Regions from separate parts of the Homo sapiens genome. Here region 2 is linked to region 1. Evidence: promoter capture Hi-C in 16 types of primary human blood cells and fetal thymus (Javierre and others, 2016). All regions are on one chromosome and are shown on one strand. Each heading gives the region's core, a stretch centred on a gene start or on the middle of the fragment in contact. The rest is flanking DNA. Distances are from core to core; before and after follow the strand shown.

The links. Contacts are between HindIII fragments. The CHiCAGO score rates a contact against its expected background, and 5 or more counts as called.
Region 2: a contact is called between a fragment that was not itself captured here and the fragment with the promoter of PDE2A in region 1, in 1 of 17 cell types (neutrophils). The highest score is 6.1, in neutrophils.

Annotation. Positions count from the first base shown.
Region 1 is chr11:72,672,964-72,675,773 of GRCh38, forward strand. It overlaps PDE2A (phosphodiesterase 2A), which reads right to left and starts at 1,459. Exons shown (of 31, transcript NM_002599.5): 1 at 1,174-1,459. The coding sequence starts at 1,244. RefSeq lists enhancers at 28-654, 655-1,280, 1,281-1,907, 1,908-2,532, 2,683-2,810. The HindIII fragment of the contact is 6,386 bases long and covers 1-2,810 here.
Region 2 is chr11:73,154,687-73,157,577 of GRCh38, forward strand. IUR1 (imatinib upregulated ABL suppressing lncRNA 1) reads right to left here. Exons shown (of 4, transcript XR_950294.3): 4 at 1,094-2,891. Among named protein-coding and RNA genes, the nearest start is that of FCHSD2, 14 kb to the left of the region's middle. RefSeq lists enhancers at 2,051-2,140, 2,631-2,680, 2,691-2,830. The HindIII fragment of the contact is 9,109 bases long and covers 1-2,891 here.

The DNA.
Region 1 (2,810 bases), core at 209-2,708:
AGATGAATACACACATATAGATACACACACACACCAGCCACAGAAGCACCGATATACACACTAGCACCATGATCACACACCCACACCAGAATACTTATACGCACACAGCCACATCCACCTCCACACACAGCAATGCTATTATTCACACACTAACAAATACACACACATAAATGCACATGGAACAGATAAAAAATGCACACTGATTCACTCTATTTTGCAGACACAACACACATAATATACAAACTCAACCTAATAGACACACCTACATACATATGCAGACCAACCTGCACTCACACTCAGACACATGCGAATAAACTCTCACTCACACAGGGATGATCACAAACTCTGACAGGCTGCTTTACATCCAACCACCAAGGACCCTAGAGCTCTACAGGCCCCTCTACACCCAACATGTCCCTTACATTCCACATGTATACACACACACACACACACACATACCCTGCCTACCACCTCGGCAGCCCTTAGTAGAGGGGTGTCGCCACGGCGCCCCCCACTCACTTGCACATGCACCCCCCTGCACGTGGACACACACGAGGCTGGCACCATATTCCATCTGGCTCCGTAGAACCCTATCCTGGGACAGACGCTTTGGGGTAAAGTTTCATAAAGTGGTGTCCCTGAACCCCAATTCCCAATTCCATGGAAGGTGGTTACCTCTAACCCTCTCTTGCTCCAGGGCCACTCTTATTCATATTTTCTCCATCTTTCCCCCTCCCCACCTCCTTCACACACACATAGCCTTGGTGGGCCAAGACACTCTCCCTCTCCGGGTCCTGAACCAGCCTATTGCAGCCCCGAGAGCTCCTCCCAACTACTTGGCAGACCTCCCCCTCCCCACATACACCCTCAGCCCTTGAAGAACCGGTTCAGGTTCATTATCAGCCCCTCCTCCAACCAGCAGCCCCTTCCATGGGACCCCAGCCTCATCACCTACTAGGTTGACGTTAGACACCCTCATTCTGCTCAGAGGTAACCTGCCCCCACCCCAGGCTGCAGTCTGGCAACGCGGGGAGGAGGGGTGCCCAGGAACAGGATCGATCCTTCCACGTGGCTCAGCTCCATGCCAACCCCAGCTCCTTGGAGGGACTCCCAGGACCCTGTCTGTGGCACCTCTCACAGCCGCTCACCACCCCAGCCCCTCACTATACTCACGGCTCAGCCGGTCGCGCTGCCGGGTACTGCTGGCTCCTGCAGAGGATGGAGTGGCCGCATGCCTGCCCCATCACTCCTCATCGTCCGCCTCCCCAGCCAGACTAAGGTGGCACCTCGCCCTGTCCCCGCTGCCTGGAGTTCAGGGCAGGGCACCCCCAGCAGGCACAGGGACCAAGAGCAGTGGGCTGCCCCCTACTCAGCCTGGACTCAACACCCCAATCCAGCTCTGCTGCCCCGCTGCTCCCGCCTCTCCCGCTGCCACTGCCTCTGCTGCTCGGCTGGCTCTGGGAGGAGGTTGGAGCAGGTCTGATAATGCAGAAGGGGGAGGGAGGAGGGAGGAGGAACAGAGAGAGGCCCAGACAGAGAGGGAGAGAGGGAGAGAGGGAGGGGTAGAGAGAGAGTCTGACTGGGAGAGAGGAAAAAAGACTCACAGACAGAGAGACTGAGAGATAAACAGAGACAGGAAGGGGGACAGTAACACATGAAGAGGGAGAGGAGAGAGGGATCAGAGCCTTAGCGAGATCAAGATGGAAGTACAAAGAGACCAGAGAGGCATAGAGAAACACACACACAGAGGAACAAAGGCAGAAAAGGAAAAAAAATCAGAGGCAGAAATAGAAAGAGAGTGGGGTAGGGGGAAAGGGGAGTGGCTGACAGAGGAGAGAGGGGAGAGGACGAGGGATTTACAATCCTCATGGGCTAGGATGGGGCTGGGGACTTGAGGGGCAGCAGACCCAGACCCTCTGCTGCCCCATCGCAGAAGCCTTCAGGATGAGGGGACACGCTTGTGCCCTCAAGTCTGAGAGATCAGGCCTCCATGCACAGCTAGCTGCCCTCTCCTCTGGGCTCCCTCACCCGGTGTGTATCATCTCCTAGCGTGCATCCCAGCCTGGAGCTGGGTCCACGGAAGACTTAGGGGGCTTTACTGATGGCCTTTGGACTCAGAGCCTTGTCACAGGGCCCACCTCTTGGTGGCTTGGTTTAGCTGGGACTTGGAGCTGATGCGTGAGCATGGACTTCTACCAGGATCTGTGGAGACCTAGGCCACAGCCTGCCCCACATGGCCTTCGCTGCTCACAGACTACAGGCATGGGGGAAGGCCTGTTGCACCCCCACCCTGCTTCCAAAGAGGACTCCCTAGGATAAAGCTATAACCTAGTGAAATAGAGGCATTTTAGGCCCTAGGACAGATAGAGAGTTGTCACAGCAGAGCTACTATTGTATGCAGGAGAAACAGCTCCACACCTTGAGGCAGGAAATGGGGATTTGGATCCTGGCTTCACCATTAACTTACTTATTCATTGGCCTACCAGTGGCTGAGCTCATGGCTCACACTATCCCTTGTCTCAGAGAAGCACTCGGGCTGGGGAGTGGGGAGGGGAGACTTGCAGGCTGTGACAGAAAGAAGCACAGGGTCTGTGAAGCCCAGAGGGACCCCTGACCTAGTTTGGGTGGTGGGGGGGCGGTTAGCAAGCATTTCTGGAAGAGAGGGTCCAAGCTGGGTCTTTTAAGGCAGAAGAGGGTATATTCCAGGGTAGAGGAGCTACAGCAAACCCTCCACAGCAACCCCATCTCTCTGAGCTGTGGGGAGAATACCTCCCCGCCACACAACAGGCTTCAAGCAGAGAAGTCCCTGA
Region 2 (2,891 bases), core at 283-2,782, 480 kb after region 1:
GCCCTTGGTAAAACCTGTTCATTTTACGGATGGGGAGACTGAGGCCCAGAAAGGGATTTGCCCAGAGCAGATATGCAATGGTGTACCCAATGCTGATCTTAAAGGTTTTGATCTGTGGTACCTTTAGTTGCTTTTGCCCATTTTCTTTCTTCTCTTTTCTCTTCTATTTTCTTTTCTTTTCTTTGACGGAGTCTCGCTCTGTCACCCAGCCTGGAGTGTAGGGGTGTGACCTCAGCTTACTGCAACTTCCACCTCCTAGGTTCAAGCAATTCCCCTGCCTCAGCGCCCCGAGTAGCTGGGACGACAGCATGCACAACCACACCTGGATAATTTTTGTATTTTTATTTTATTTATTATGATTTTTTAAGATGGAGTCTCGCCCTGTCACCCAGGCTGTAGTGTAGTGCACGATCTTGGCTCACTGCAACCAAGCAATCCGCCCGCCTTGGCCTCCCATAGTGCTGGGATTACAGGCCTGAGCCTCCGCTCTCGGCCTGTTTTCTTTTTCTATTTCCTTTCTACCAGCCTGGCAGATGCCTCCTCTCTCTGCTGCCTTGGTGAATACCTGCCTGCCTGCAGCAGCAACTTCTCACCCCCAACATTGGCTGCCAATTAACCTTTAAACCTTTTACAACCAGATCACCATGGGCTTCATGCTCAAAGTGTAAAGTGAGAATGTAAAGTATGAGTAAATGGATTCACATCAAGGTTCTGGGGATCATCTTAGGTATCTAAAGGCCTTTTATACTTAGAATATGGTTTCTGCAGCAATTCTTCAACAGAGAGAAAAATCCAGAGATAAAAATGGGGTTCAGGCCAGGCACAGTGGCTCATGCCTGTAATCCCAGCACTTTGGGAGGCCGAGGCAGGTGGATCACCTGAGGTCAGGAGTTCGAGACCAGCCTGGCCAACATGGTGAAACCCCATCTCTACTAAAAATACAAAAAATAGCTGGGCGTGGTGGTGTGTGTCTGTAATCCCAGCTACTCGGGAGGCTGAGGCAGGAGAATCGCTTGAACCTGGGAGGTGGAGGTTGCAGTGAGCCGAGATTGAGCTATTGCACTTCAGCCTGGATGACAAGAGGGAAATTCCATCTCAAAAAAAAAAAAAAAAAAAAAAAGAATGGGGTCCAGGAATATGTTTTCACTGCTCTTTGTCAATCCTCTCTCCAGCTCACATTTCACCCACACACACTTGGAGGGTGCCTCTGGAAGGATGACAACAGCTTGCGCCTCCATTTTTCTCACTTTGGTAATTCATTATCATCCCTAAGGCTGGAAAGGGCATTAAAGTTCAGGCAGTTCAATTCCAAGTTCGATTCAGAAATTATTTCCTCCATCCATTCTTCTGCTCCAAAACCTTGACTAACTCATGCCAGATCTAGTGCTTGGTGCTGTGAGATCCAACAGGGTCTTGCCTTCAGGGAACTCACATCTGAGAAGGGAGACAGGTGTGTAAAGAACACCTACAGTGGAGTGTGTAATGTGGTAGAGGGGAGAGTGATCAGGTTTCTCAGGGAAGGAGATGCTCTCCTGGGATCTTGAAGGATGAATTTACCAAGCAGGGAAATGGGGGAAGGGCTCCAAGCAGCTGTCAATATTCATACCACCAGAACTTGCCCTGTCAGTCAGGCCACTTCTTACTCAGACTCCCAGACTTCTGCACAACCCCTTGCCTTTCTCTCAGGCTTTACTCACCCACTGTGTCTGTCAAAAAACGTTCCCAGGCACTTCATCTGTAAAGGTCCTGTACTGGGTCCTGGAGACTCCTGGCCTTGAGGAGCCCACAGCTTGGTGGGGGATGGATGCATAGAGAGCCAATGACCACATAGTGTGAACATGGGAAGGTCAGAACTGAAGAGCCAGCAACAAATGCTATCTGAGCCATCCTTGGGAGGACAGGGGAGACTTTCTGCAGGAGGTGATATATAACCTGACATCTGAGCTATGGAATCTCCTACATCCTCATAGCACTCCTTTAAGGTAGGCCTTATTATTCCCTTTTAGATATGATAAAACTGAAGCCCAGAAAAGGGCAATGCCTTACCCAAGGTCACATGATTAGTGAGCGAGGTAGGTATGCATTCACCCCTGTGTACCCAGCAGCAGAGGTGGAAGTGGCACTATTGGAAGAGCTGGGCCTCAGGGGCTAGGACCAGAGGTGGAATGTTCAGAAGCACGGAGGGAGGAGCAGAAGCTGAGAACCTGGAGCTGATGGAACCTACAGGTTGTGCCATCTCTCCCAGACATACAGTAGAGCAGAGAAGGGACAGGAATATCCAGCAGGGCATCAGCTTGCAGCTTCATATCAGCAGAGCTGGCTCAGTCCTTAGACACCATCCTATCCAGCCCAGGAGAAACAGGTTTGTCCAGGGCAATTGATGAGGATGCATAGTATCACAGTGGCTGACCCTGGGCTAGATAGAATTCAGAGGCTTTGTCCTCCAGCCCAGTGCTCCACCCATTGCCCCAGCTGCCACTACATTGTTCAATCCAATCTACGTTTACTGATGGTGTGCTCTGGATTGGACACTCTTCCAGGCACCATGGAGACCACAGGGATCCTCCCCTTCACTGCTGTCAGGAGCTTTCAGCTGCATGGAGGAAGTCAGGTTGGGCTCCAAGACCTAGACTCCAAGTAGCATGTGGGAAGTGAGACAGCAGCAGGCATGAACACAGTGCTGGGGAGTGGGGTGAGGAGGACCTTAATGGCACAAGTGCCATGAGCAATCCTTAGACTTCAGATCTCCCATCTGTCCCAAGAAGAGACTGGAGTCAACAATCTCTGAGGTCTGCTAGCCTCTACCCTCCTTTGCCTTGCAAGGATTGGGAGGCAGGGCTGGGTCCAGCTTCTGGTAGGCTAGGGGATGGGAGGCAGAGGAAGTGGCTTGA